Regions from separate parts of the Homo sapiens genome. Here region 1 is linked to region 2. Evidence: promoter capture Hi-C in 16 types of primary human blood cells and fetal thymus (Javierre and others, 2016). All regions are on one chromosome and are shown on one strand. The core of a region is centred on a gene start or on the middle of the fragment in contact, and the rest is flanking DNA. Distances in the headings are between cores, read along the strand shown.

What was found. Contacts are between HindIII fragments. The CHiCAGO score rates a contact against its expected background, and 5 or more counts as called.
Region 1: a fragment that was not itself captured here is called in contact with the fragment with the promoter of NPAT in region 2 in 1 of 17 cell types (total B cells); the score reaches 6.8 in total B cells.

The regions. Positions count from the first base shown.
Region 1 is chr11:93,723,247-93,729,579 of GRCh38, forward strand. It overlaps CEP295 (centrosomal protein 295), which reads left to right. Exons shown (of 30, transcript NM_033395.2): 21 at 1-43; 22 at 1,008-1,129; 23 at 2,405-2,585; 24 at 3,730-4,391; 25 at 5,435-5,575; 26 at 6,188-6,284. Among named protein-coding and RNA genes, the nearest start is that of SNORA25, 4.2 kb to the right of the region's middle. The HindIII fragment of the contact is 5,069 bases long and covers 516-5,584 here.
Region 2 is chr11:108,217,891-108,223,887 of GRCh38, forward strand. NPAT (nuclear protein, coactivator of histone transcription) reads right to left here and starts at 4,748. Exons shown (of 18, transcript NM_002519.3): 1 at 4,610-4,748. The coding sequence starts at 4,646. ATM (ATM serine/threonine kinase) reads left to right here and starts at 5,177. Exons shown (of 63, transcript NM_000051.4): 1 at 5,177-5,296. RefSeq lists enhancers at 462-606, 1,167-1,668, 4,644-4,703, 5,114-5,273, 5,584-5,663 and a cis regulatory region at 534. The HindIII fragment of the contact is 4,203 bases long and covers 4,517-5,997 here.

The DNA of each region.
Region 1 (6,333 bases), core at 1,800-4,299, about 14 Mb before region 2:
ATTAATGAAGCAAATTTGATACCTGAAAAAACAGATTTGCAAGGTAAAATTATTTTAAAGCAATACTTTTATGTAAATTAAGTTTTAAATTTTCACCTTTCATCATTTTAAATTTTATGCAGTGATTGTTTGAGCTTCATGTTCTTATGGCCTGCTACAACACCGTTTTACCACAGAATATATTGAGGGCATTTAGTGAGAAAGGGGATCTGGAACCAATTAGACTCACTGAGGCACATTTATAGGAGATTAATTAGCAAATCTTCCTTTGCCATTGCAGAGTTAGCTATTACGGCTGAGGCGGTATTACTGATAAATAAGAGCAGGAGCTCAGAAATCATACAGTTCTGGATTTGAGTCATAGCCTGACCATTTCCTAGCTGTAAAACCATGGGCAAGTTACTTTTTAATCTTTTATAAAAGAGGAATATTATAGATTAAATGAGATAGTGCACATAAAGCACAATGTCTGGCCCATAGTAACACTGAATACAGTGAGCCTTTTTCCTTTTTTAAGCTTATACTGAAGCAGTGGTTACATATGTCCTGTTGATCCTCATTAGCCTCATAAGGCTGTGGAAATGGAAATTCGTATTTGTCAAAAGTTTGTTCATACCTGTAATCGTAGCACTTTGGGAGGCTGAGGCAGGAGGATTGCTTGAGCCCAGGATTTCAAGACCAGCCTGGGCAACACTGAGACCCCATCTCTATTTTAAAAAAAAATTTTTTAAATTTAAAAAAATTAAATTTCTCTAAAAATAAAACTTAAAAAGTTTTGGTCACTGAGAGGATCCATATTTTGGACCTTTGAAATAATCATGATAGGACTTAACTTTAAAGCATCTGCTGATCATGGGGGAAAAACTGAAGTTTTTGTTACACTGGAGTTACCTGAAAATAAGCGTTTATGAATATGTTCTTAATACTCCTTTTCTAGTGTTTACCTTAAAAATAAATTTATGATTTTTTTCCCTCAAAAATTCTAACAGTTGACCTTGACTTTCCAGAATTGGAACACATTTTTCCTAATTTGCATCATCAGCTGTTTAAACCCTTAGAACCACATCCAGATTTTGACTTATCATCATCATCCTCTGGGATTTCTCCAGACAACAGAGACTTTTACCAGGTATATTAAAGTAGATGTCCCATTGCAGTGAATATCTAAAAATAGTTTTAAGCCATTTCTTCTACTGGAACAAAAGTTCTTCTAAACCCTTACCTAGAATCACATGGAAGTCTGGGCACAGTGGCTCACACCTGTAATCCCAGCACTTTGAGAGCCCAAGGCGGGCAGATTACTTGAGGCCAAGAGTTCGAGACCAGCCTGGCCAACATGGCAAAACCCTGTCTCTACTGAAAATACAAAAATTAGCCAGGTGTCGTGGTGCGCACCTGTAGTCCCAGCTACTCGGGAGGCTGAGGTGGGAGGACCACTTGAGCCCAGGAGGTGGAGGCTGCAGTGAGCTGAGATCGTGCCACTACACTCCAGTCTGGGTGACAGAGCCAGACCCTGTCTTTAAAAAAAGAAACAAACAAACAAACAAAAAGAATCACATGGAAAACTTAAATAAAAAATAAAAATAAATCCTATTGTCCAGACTACACCCTAGACCAATTAAAGCAGAGTTTCTGGGAGTGCTCAGATAGTACTAATTATTATTATTATTTTTTAAGCTCCCCAAGTGATTCTAATGTGGAACCAACTTTGAAAACAGCTGCATTGGGCCGGGTGCGGTGGCTCATGCCTGTAATCCCAGCACTTTGGGAGTCTGAGGCAGGTGGATTGCTTGAGGCCAGGAGTTTGAGATCAGCCTGGCCAACATGGTGAAATCCCATCTCTACTAAAAAACACAAAAATTAGTTGGGTGTGATGGCATGCCTGTAGTCCCAGCTACTCGGGAGGCTGAGAACCGCTTGAACCTGGGAGGCAGAGGTTGCAGTGAGCCGAGATCGTGCCACTGCACTCCAGCCTGGACAACATAGTGAGACCCCATCTCAAAAAAAAAAAAAGGAAAACAGCTACATTAGAATTTTGTTTGTCCCATCCACCTGTCTCCACCTAGGGAGTATGATGCCATAAAAGGCTTAATAACAACTTTTAGTTGTGGAACATATTTAAACAGTAAAGTAAATACAATTTTGCAAAATTTAAAGTATCCTCCTACACAGTCAAAGGAGCTGAGATTTAAACCTGAGTCTTTTTGCTTCCACTTCCTGATGGCCTGACATTTTAAAGTCTCTTTCATATTGATTGAAAAGAACTGGATTTGAAAAAGCAAATCATTGCTGTCATAGTGAAGTGATAATTAAGGAAGAGTAATACCAAAGGAACACAATGATTATTGTTTCAATTGTTAATACCTAATCAGTATTTCAGCCTTTCCCTTTTGTTTCCTGCCAGAGATCAGATTCTTCATCTGAAAGCCACTGTGCTACTGGATTATCCAAAAGTACAGTTTATTTCACAGCACTGAGGAGGACCAGCATGCATTCTTCTCTTAACACAAGTCCGAATCAACAACCTGACACTAACTTGGCTCATGTTGGAGCTCACAGTTTTGCTACAGAAAATATTATTGGGGGTATGTATGACTAAGTTAGAAAAAGTTAATTTTTCCATGATTTTTTACATCCATTTCCTTAGAAATTAAGCCTAGCACCTCTTGGTTTGTCTTCACCCCTGCTCTCACCCCTATCCTGGGTGTTAAAAAATATTTAAATTACAGAAGTAATACATGCATTTTTTTAAACAATACTGAACATTATGAAATAAAAGGAAAAGTGTTGCCTCTTGTTCCTCAATTTCCCTACCTCAATCATTATGTGATAGTTAACAGTTTAAGTATTATTTTTTTGTTTGTTTTTTTTGTTTTTGTTTTTGTTTTTATTTTGTTTTTGAAGACTGAGTTTCACTCTTGTTGCCCAGGCTGGAGTGCAGTGGTGCAATCTTGGCTCACTGCAACCTCCGCCTGCTGGGTTCAAGTGATTCTCCTGCCTCACTCAGCCTCCCAAGTAGCTGGGATTACAGGCATGTGCCACCACACCCAGCTAATTTTCTATTTTTAGTATAGACAGGGTTTCACTATGTTGGTCAGGCTGGTCTAGAACTCCCGACCTCAGATGATCCACTCGTCTTGGCCTCCCAAAGTGCTGGGATTACAGGTGTGAGCCACCATGCCCAGCCAGTTTAAGTATTCTTCTTAGGCCAAGTATAGTGGCTCACGCCTGTAATCCTAGCACTTTGGGAAGCTGCGGCAGGAGGATCCCTGGAGCCCAGGAGTTCAAGACCAGCCTGGGCAACATAGAAAACAAGTATTCTTGAGCCTTTGGTACAAATGATTATATATACACACAAACATACATGAGATACACAAGGATGTACAAATTATATATACACACATGGATAATTGAGATACACATGGATGCTTTATTCTCTTTTCTGTTATTAAAGTCATATTCAGTTCTTATAGAGGAAAACATCCTCAGTTTATAGCCATATTGTCCTTATTAAATATTAATAGAAAAAGAAAAAATACTTGGTGTGAGCTGTAGTTTGAGAAATCACTGTGACCATCCTTATCTTTGTATTCATGTTTATACACATCAACTTTTATGCCTAAAATTGTAGGTTACTTGCAATTGGATGATAAACTATTAGAGACTGTCAGTATCCAACTTTTACAACATGTAACGATGATTAACTGATTTTTGAATTTCTTAATGCAGGATCTGAACAATGTTTTGAACAGCTTCAGCCAGAATATTCTTCACAGGAGGAGAGCCAGCATGCTGATCTACCAAGTATTTTTAGCATTGAAGCAAGAGATTCTTCCCAAGGCATGAAAAATCAGAACTATCCCTCTGAAGAACATACTGAAATATTACAAAACAAGAAAAAAATTGTTCATTTCCAGCTTTCTATAGGAAACTTAAGTTCAGTCTACAGTTCATCTGATGAAGCTAATGTATTTGATCAGTTAAATGTACAGCATAGCACTCCATGTGGTTCTAACTCTAGTGAGTGCTCAACAAAACACCAACTAGAAAGCAGAAAGGAAAGTATGGGCTTTGAAGAACTATCAAAAAGAGGGGTTGTTACAATGTTACAAAGTCAAGGACTCATTGAAGATAATAAAAATGAAACCTGTAGGGTTTTAGACATAAATCCACAGGTAGAGGAAACTGACTCTCGATTATGTGTAAGAACAGTGGAGATGGGAACTTCAATTCAGGCACCATATTCCTTAACTACTCAAAATGAAAAATATTTTGAGAATTCAGCTGAAACAGACATTCCAAAAATCACCAAAAAACTATCTCAACTAGGAGAATCAGAGCTTTTTGCAAGTTCTGGATCATTTTCATTACAGAGCTCTATACCAGTCTGGGTAAGTGAAATCAGTGTTGTATAAATAACATTTAAATTCCTTTTTGGGAAAAAACTTTTTTCTTCTAAAATTAGAGATGAAGTTCCCACTATGCTACCCAGGCTGAACTCAAACTCCTAGGATCAAGGGATCCTCCTGCCTCAACTTCCGAAGTAGTTTGGACACACCACAATGCCTGGCAGGAAAAACCTGAAACAAAATACAAGCAAAACTGCTTGTTAATATTGCTATCCAGCTTGTGATCACTAGAAATATCCAGCATAATGCAGAAACTTAAAAATTTGAAAACTGTCTTCTGAGAGTATTTTACAAAAGATCCTTTTTCTCCCAATTCAGATATCCTTTCTCCAACTTCCCTGAAAAATGGTGGTTCTGCCTGTGCTTCAGCACTTTCAGTGTTGAGCCTCATTCCAGTGCAATGAATTCATCCATTATTGGAATAAGTATTGGAAACCTGCTCCTCATATTAAGCAACTTATAATCTGCTTGCTTTCAACACCAGTCAACTGGTGACTGGTTTTCATCTAGCAGTATGTGCAGTTTATCCTTCCACAAATAAACATAACAGATTGAAAATAAGAATTACAACTAAACCACGTTTTATGTGGCTGCTTTTGTTCTTGTTGTGTTTAGATACTTTTGAAACATTATCTGTTAGCAGTCAGTGGCCCACATTTGGTAGCAGCCCAGTCGACCCCTGCTCCCTTTAAAGGATACAATTCGGCACAGCCAACCTGCATTTATATTTTTTGCCCAACACTACAAGCATTTAGGTTTGTAATCATTGTGGTAGATACCTTTCAGTCCATTGTCACACTATTTCATCCCCTCCCCAAAGTAGGCTCCAGTATTTCTACAACTGAATGCTGGAGTTATGGAAGCCTAAGGAAATCTGATCTGTTGGTCTTTGCCAATCATTGCTTTTCTTCCTCCATTTTCACATTTATATACACTTGCAAAAAATGTGCATTATATACAAAACGATTAGTTTAAGTCTTTTAAGGCTATTTTGACATGGTTTTCCTTTTAATTGTGGTTCACAGGAAACAGAAACTGGCCATGGTATAATGGAAGAACCAGAACTTACTTTAATAAGCACCACTGATACCAGTATTGCTGAAATGGATTTTGCAAATTTAACCCTAGAAGAGAAGAGCGAGAATGAAGCAAAATGCTTCTTTCAGGTAAATTTAAGCTTTCCTTCTATTTTATTCTATTACAAGCAAACCAGTTGATTTGTCTCTTACAACTTATCAGAAGGTACTCATTGGAGGGAATTATGCTATGCATTTAACTAAGCCGACACCCCCACCAGCTCTCAATTTGTCTTAAACCTTCACTATTCTGTCAACCATTGTGCATTTTCTTTTAATCCCCACTCCAATTTATGCCTGTCTCCAAGACTGGCAGAACTAATCTTATACACCTAGTGTTATAGTGCCAAGTTGGAAGTTTTACCTAAACTTATTCCCAGATATTGAAAAATGACTTCAGAACAACTGGTAATTTTACTAGGGGAGTAGGGAGGCAATAAGAATAAAGCTATCTAAACAGAGGCCTAGAGGTGTGAGGGCAGTGGAGCCTAAGCCCAGTTCAAGACCAGCCTGGGCAACAAGGCAAAACCCAATCCCTACAAAAAATACAAAAATCAGGCATGGTGGCGGGTCTCTGTAGACCCAGCTAAGATTGAGGCTGCAGTGAGGTGTGATCATGCCGCTGCACTCTAATCTGACAGCAGAGCAAGACCCGCTTAAAGCGTTTAAAAAGAGTAAAACATGCAACTTTCTTGCCATTAGGTGAGTGAGTTTCTGCCTCTTGTATCAGCAACAGAAGCCTCAGATTATCCAGCTGTATCAGAACTTTCCATAGAAAAACCAAGGACAGCATCTACAGGTAAGCCTTGGACGGCCTCCACACTTCTAATGGAAAGTAGATACTTTGC
Region 2 (5,997 bases), core at 3,498-5,997:
GCTGAGGCAGGAGAATCACTTGAACCTGGGAGGCAGAGGTTGCAGTAAGCCAAGATCTCACTGCTGCACCCAGCCTGGATGACAAGAGTGCAATTCTGTCTCAAGAAATAAATAAATAAAATAGAAAATACAAACTAGGCACTAATCATCTCTTATCAGTATAATACAAATCGTTATTCTACAACTAATATTAGTTATTACTGTTTTTTCCTTTTATTCCTAAAAACAACTTAAGAATAAAAGAAGTGTATTTTTTTGTGTAAACTTACTGACAAAGGTCCCCGAATAGGTAAGAAAGTATGCCTGAGTTTCCTTCTTAACATAATATTATCTTCAGCCTACTTTTATTATAAGTGGAGGTGGTAATGAGTAACTAAATGAATTGAAGGGGAAACAACCGAAAAAGAGAAGAAAGGATAAGATCCTAACTATATGAAGGGTATTTTTTCTTCCTACTTGTAGAGAGGGAAAGATAAAAAGAGAGGTTTAAAGCAAGCAAGAGATAGTAAAGCACGCTATGTGAAAACATCTCCTTCACATATTTTATTATTTCCTAGAAAGATTAGTAATTTAATGTTCGTTAAGCATGCAAATAATTCTTAGGAAGCCGTACCTTATGTTGTCTTATATTACTAGATCCACAAATAACAGGGACAAGGTTTCTGTCTATAAAGTTACAATTTACTTGGAGATAGAAGATATATACACAAATAACTGTAATGCAAAGCAAAAATGGTAAGAAAATAGAGCTGACTCACTTCATGGGAAGGGAGGGGCTGGAGAAACCACTACTAAGCTTGGAAATTATGTGATGTTTGAAGGTGCAGATGAGTACTGAAGGATGGTTGGGAATCCCAAAGAAGCTGACAGAAAGTATATATGCAATCATATTTGGGGAACATGTCCAGTTTGGATGCAGCACAAGGTTTATGAAGGGTAACAGTTGGAGATACAACAGAAAAGACAAAATGGGTAAGGATCATGAAAAGTTTTAGACAGCAATGAGTACATATATTATTAAATAAACAAAGGAGTGTCATAATCAGAGCCATACTTTTGCAAATGTTTTATTAAATATCTATGTTTTGGTGATATAAAGGTGAATAGAACCAGCAGCTCTTGACCTGTTAGGGGTGTGTCAGTTTTGGTCCTGTTTGACCTCAAACACGTTCTTGACCCTTCTGTCGCTCTCTACTGTATGACATAAAGCTTGACTCTATATAGGCAATGTTCCCCAAGCTCTTCTGTCGGCCTGCTACTGGCTGGGCTCAGTAAATAGGAAGCACTGGTGGGAGGCTGGAGGGCAGGAGGAAGCAGCCATATTTTTCCCCCATTCCCTTTCTGCCTCAGTAGAGTCTCCTCTAAGACTACCACTCCCTCATCAGACAAGTCTTCCACGTTCCGCAGTCAAACCAGCCTCTTGATTGCTTCCTCTCTCCTTATCCTTCTCATTAGCATAGTGGCTTCCTACTGTTGCTAACCACTGAGATGCCTTAGTTGTAAGCTGCTGGGCGTCTTAGCTTTTCTCTCACCAGTGTAAACGAATTCTCTCATTAAATCTTTCCATGTTAAATACTCAGAATGGTTTCTACTTTTTTTACTGCATGCTGTCTCATACAGAAGGTAACAAATCTATTCAAGAAAACCTTCACAGATGATAGTTTTGGGGACTCCCAGAACTCTTGAAGCTTGTCCATTCATCCATGACTAAGACTACTAATAAAACAAAAAACCAAGTAAGTTTCAAATTGGGAAGATGAAAAAGTTCCAGAAACTGATGGTAGTGATGGTTGCAGAAAAATGTCAATATAGTTAACACTACTGATCTGTACATTAAAAACAAACAACAACAACAACAACAACAACAACAAACTCATTGTTTTGGGCTTTAAGAACTATACATTTTTAAGTGTTGAATTTTGTTAGTATATTTTATCAAAAAAAAGTAAACACACATCTACAATGAGACATGATAAGGTTGTAACAGAAGTACAATGCTATGGCAACATTTAAGAAGTACTGACTGTACTTGCTGAATGAAGTTTCAGAGATCAGGCATGACCTGAACCTTGAATAGAAGTGTACTAGGAAGACAAAGAGAAGTAGAATACATACAAGAATTTTCAAAGAAACTTCAATTCGTTTGGCATGTCTGCAGCATAAAACAGATGTTAGGAAGTTGAGATCAAGTTGGAGAGGTAGGTAGGATCAGTTCCACAGAGCACCTTGAATAAATAGATAAAAACTGAACTGATGGCCCAGAGGCAACAAACACTTTGATGTATTCTGGCCCACACAACATTTTGTAAAATCCCAGCAAGGCAATAAGGGCTACTTAAGTGGAGTAGTGAGATGCAAAAGTCAGAGTGCAGTATCCTGAAGGATAAAAGGTAGGTGAAGAACAGCAACTAAGTGGAATTCATTGTTCTTTGAATAAATTTGACTTGTGAAAGGGTGACACAGAACATAAGACAGAATGTTCTGTTTAATGGGTGTCTAATGTCTAGTGGGGTCCAGAAAAGTGTTTTTTTGTGTGTATGTTTAAGAATTTAAAAAAAACCTAATTATCTGAACACTAAGGGGAGAAAACTTAACTTCTCTATGTTCAGCAATTGGCACAGTGTTTGGAACATACTAGGCACCCAAAGATTTGCTAGAAAAAAAACATTATGAAGGGACCAATAACAAGAGGAGCTGAAGATGGCGAGGGGGTACTGATAGGAAAAGAATCATGAGTAAATAATAAACCTCATATGAGAAAGATATACACGATATGTATCTATTTAAGATGTAAAATGATAAACGACAAAAGTAAGAGCATTAGGCATGGGGAGGCTTTTTTGTATTGTATACTCCTGCCCATCTGAAATTTTTAGTAAGAATAGAATTATCTCAACTTTCAGACTAAAAGGTATAGTGTGAAAGCTTCAGGGAGATTTGTAACAACAGTAAATAAAATGAATTGCGAGGACAACTGTCTGGGAAGCCATGACAGAAGTCCAAAAGAGAAGTAATGGCAGGCACATTGCGGGATTGGTGGCAGTGAAAATGGAATGTGAATGACAAAGATTTTTAAGATAAGAAAACCATGGCTGGCGTTTTTTGTCCATTAAATGAAAAGCAGGAAGTCAGCAGAGTAGCTGGTTTGTGGAGAAAGAATACTCACACATCGATGTGAATTATTTCAATTAGAAAATGATACTGCTTTCTTAGGGCTTTCTTAACTAGGGGTGATTCTGCCCTCCAGGGGACATACTAGCAATATCTAGAGACATTTTCACTGATCACAACTGGGTAAGGGTAGGGTGGGGAACGGGTGTCCTACTGTAATCTAGTGAATAGAAGCCAGGAATGCTGCTAAACATCCTACAATGTTTGAGCACAGGATAGCTCCCCACAATAAAGAATTATGAGGCCCAAAATGTTAACAGTACTGAGGCTGAGAAACCATGTTTAAGACTATAGTTACCGAAACTCAACTAGATTACCAAACTGCCAAAACTCAGAATTCTTAAGCAAAAGATTAATCAGACATTAACAAAACATTAAACTTGTCATTAAGTTTCTTCAAAAATGGATGGTGGAACCATTTCCGTTTAACGTTTCCTGCAAAATGTGCTTATCAAGAGCCCTGCGCAAATAACATTTTTGTGGACAGCGCTGGGCATTTAAAAGAGGCACAAGACAAATGGGTTTTCCGAACAATAAAATAATAGTAGTAATGGCTGTGAATACTATGGGAGGTTTCATCACAGATGCTTGCCATTTACTTTTAGGGACGTCGCATACGACGTCCGTAAATTACTGGCTCGGGTTTTGAGCTTTACCTGGCTCTCGTCCCCTGTAGTACAATCCTCTTTATTCTTTCAGGGGACAAACAACAACAAAACCCGTCTCTCACACAGACAATACACCCTGACAGACAAGTGACCCACAAACAATCCCTCCTCAAATGAAGGTAAAACTAGGGCTAGAAAACGTTCAACTAATTTAAGGCAATTAACCCTCTGAAATTTTTCGCTGATCAAAGGAACAGGAATTGCTGTTTTAAAATATGCAACTGGCATTTCACACCTCTACACTGGACGACGTATTGCGTGGAGGATGGAGAAGGAAGATCACCCCTACTCCCAAATTCGTAGTTATAAGGGCGGGTTATTAGAAGGGCGCCAGGAAGGTCTCTCTACAAAGATGGGGGGCCGGGGAACTCCCTATTTGCCCTATTTTGGTCCCAACACTGAACCAAGGAAATTGCGCCCAAGGTTGAAGCACACGCAATCCGTCCGTCATGCAGACAAATGCTCTTTCAGGGGTCCTAATTAAGTGTGGAGGCCTGACTTTCCTTCCGAATCCGCCCCAGGTGTTCCACCCCGAGCTTCCCCTCGGGCTTCCCCTCGCCACGCAGCCTCTGAAGAGAGGAGCATCTACATACAAAGAGGCTTAAACTGCCCAGAACCTCCGAATGACGAAGAATCACCGCCAGTCTCAACTCGTAAGCTGGGAGGCAAAACCCCAAAGCTTCCCTACCAAGGGAAAACCTTTGGCCTCAAAGGTCCTTCTGTCCAGCATAGCCGGGTCCAATAACCCTCCATCCCGCGTCCGCGCTTACCCAATACAAGCCGGGCTACGTCCGAGGGTAACAACATGATCAAAACCACAGCAGGAACCACAATAAGGAACAAGACTCAGGTTAAAGCAAACACAGCGACAGCTCCTGCGCCGCATCTCCTGGTTCCAGTGGCGGCACTGAACTCGCGGCAATTTGTCCCGCCTCTTTCGCTTCACGGCAGCCAATCGCTTCCGCCAGAGAAAGAAAGGCGCCGAAATGAAACCCGCCTCCGTTCGCCTTCGGAACTGTCGTCACTTCCGTCCTCAGACTTGGAGGGGCGGGGATGAGGAGGGCGGGGAGGACGACGAGGGCGAAGAGGGTGGGTGAGAGCCCCGGAGCCCGAGCCGAAGGGCGAGCCGCAAACGCTAAGTCGCTGGCCATTGGTGGACATGGCGCAGGCGCGTTTGCTCCGACGGGCCGAATGTTTTGGGGCAGTGTTTTGAGCGCGGAGACCGCGTGATACTGGATGCGCATGGGCATACCGTGCTCTGCGGCTGCTTGGCGTTGCTTCTTCCTCCAGAAGTGGGCGCTGGGCAGTCACGCAGGGTTTGAACCGGAAGCGGGAGTAGGTAGCTGCGTGGCTAACGGAGAAAAGAAGCCGTGGCCGCGGGAGGAGGCGAGAGGAGTCGGGATCTGCGCTGCAGCCACCGCCGCGGTTGATACTACTTTGACCTTCCGAGTGCAGTGGTAGGGGCGCGGAGGCAACGCAGCGGCTTCTGCGCTGGGAAATTCAGTCGTGTGCGACCCAGTCTGTCCTCTCCCCAGACCGCCAATCTCATGCACCCCTCCAGAGTGGCCCTTGACTCCTCCCTCTCCTCACTCCATCTTTCCTGGCCTCTCTCCGGGTGCTTAGCGGACTTGGCCAATAACCTCCTCCTTTTAAACGCCCTGAATTGAACCCTGCCTCCTGCGCATCCTCTTTTTGTGTCACCTTAGGGTTCAGATTTAACTACGCGACTTGACTAGTCATCTTTTGATCTCTCTCTCGTATTTAGTACTTTTAGTCAGCGAGCATTTATTGATATTTCAACTTCAGCCTCGCGGTTAAGAGCTTGGGCTCTGGAATCATACGGCTGGAATTGGAATTCTGTCAGTCGTGTGGCCGCTCTCTACTGTCTTGTGAAGATAAGTGAGATAATCTTGACCTGTGGTGAGCACTCGTGAGCGTTAGCTGCTGTATTTACCAGGTACAGATAAGACAACTACAGTGGATGATAATGTATGTGGTGATAGGGGAGTACTCTGATGGTAGAGGAGTGACTTTGGTTCTCTGCAAACTCAGCCTGAGACTATCAATTCAGTTTGTGGTGAGACCTCGCAGTGTTACCTTGGCAGATGGTAGAAGCCTTCCAGATGGAAGGAAAAATGCGTGTAAAGGCACAAAGTGT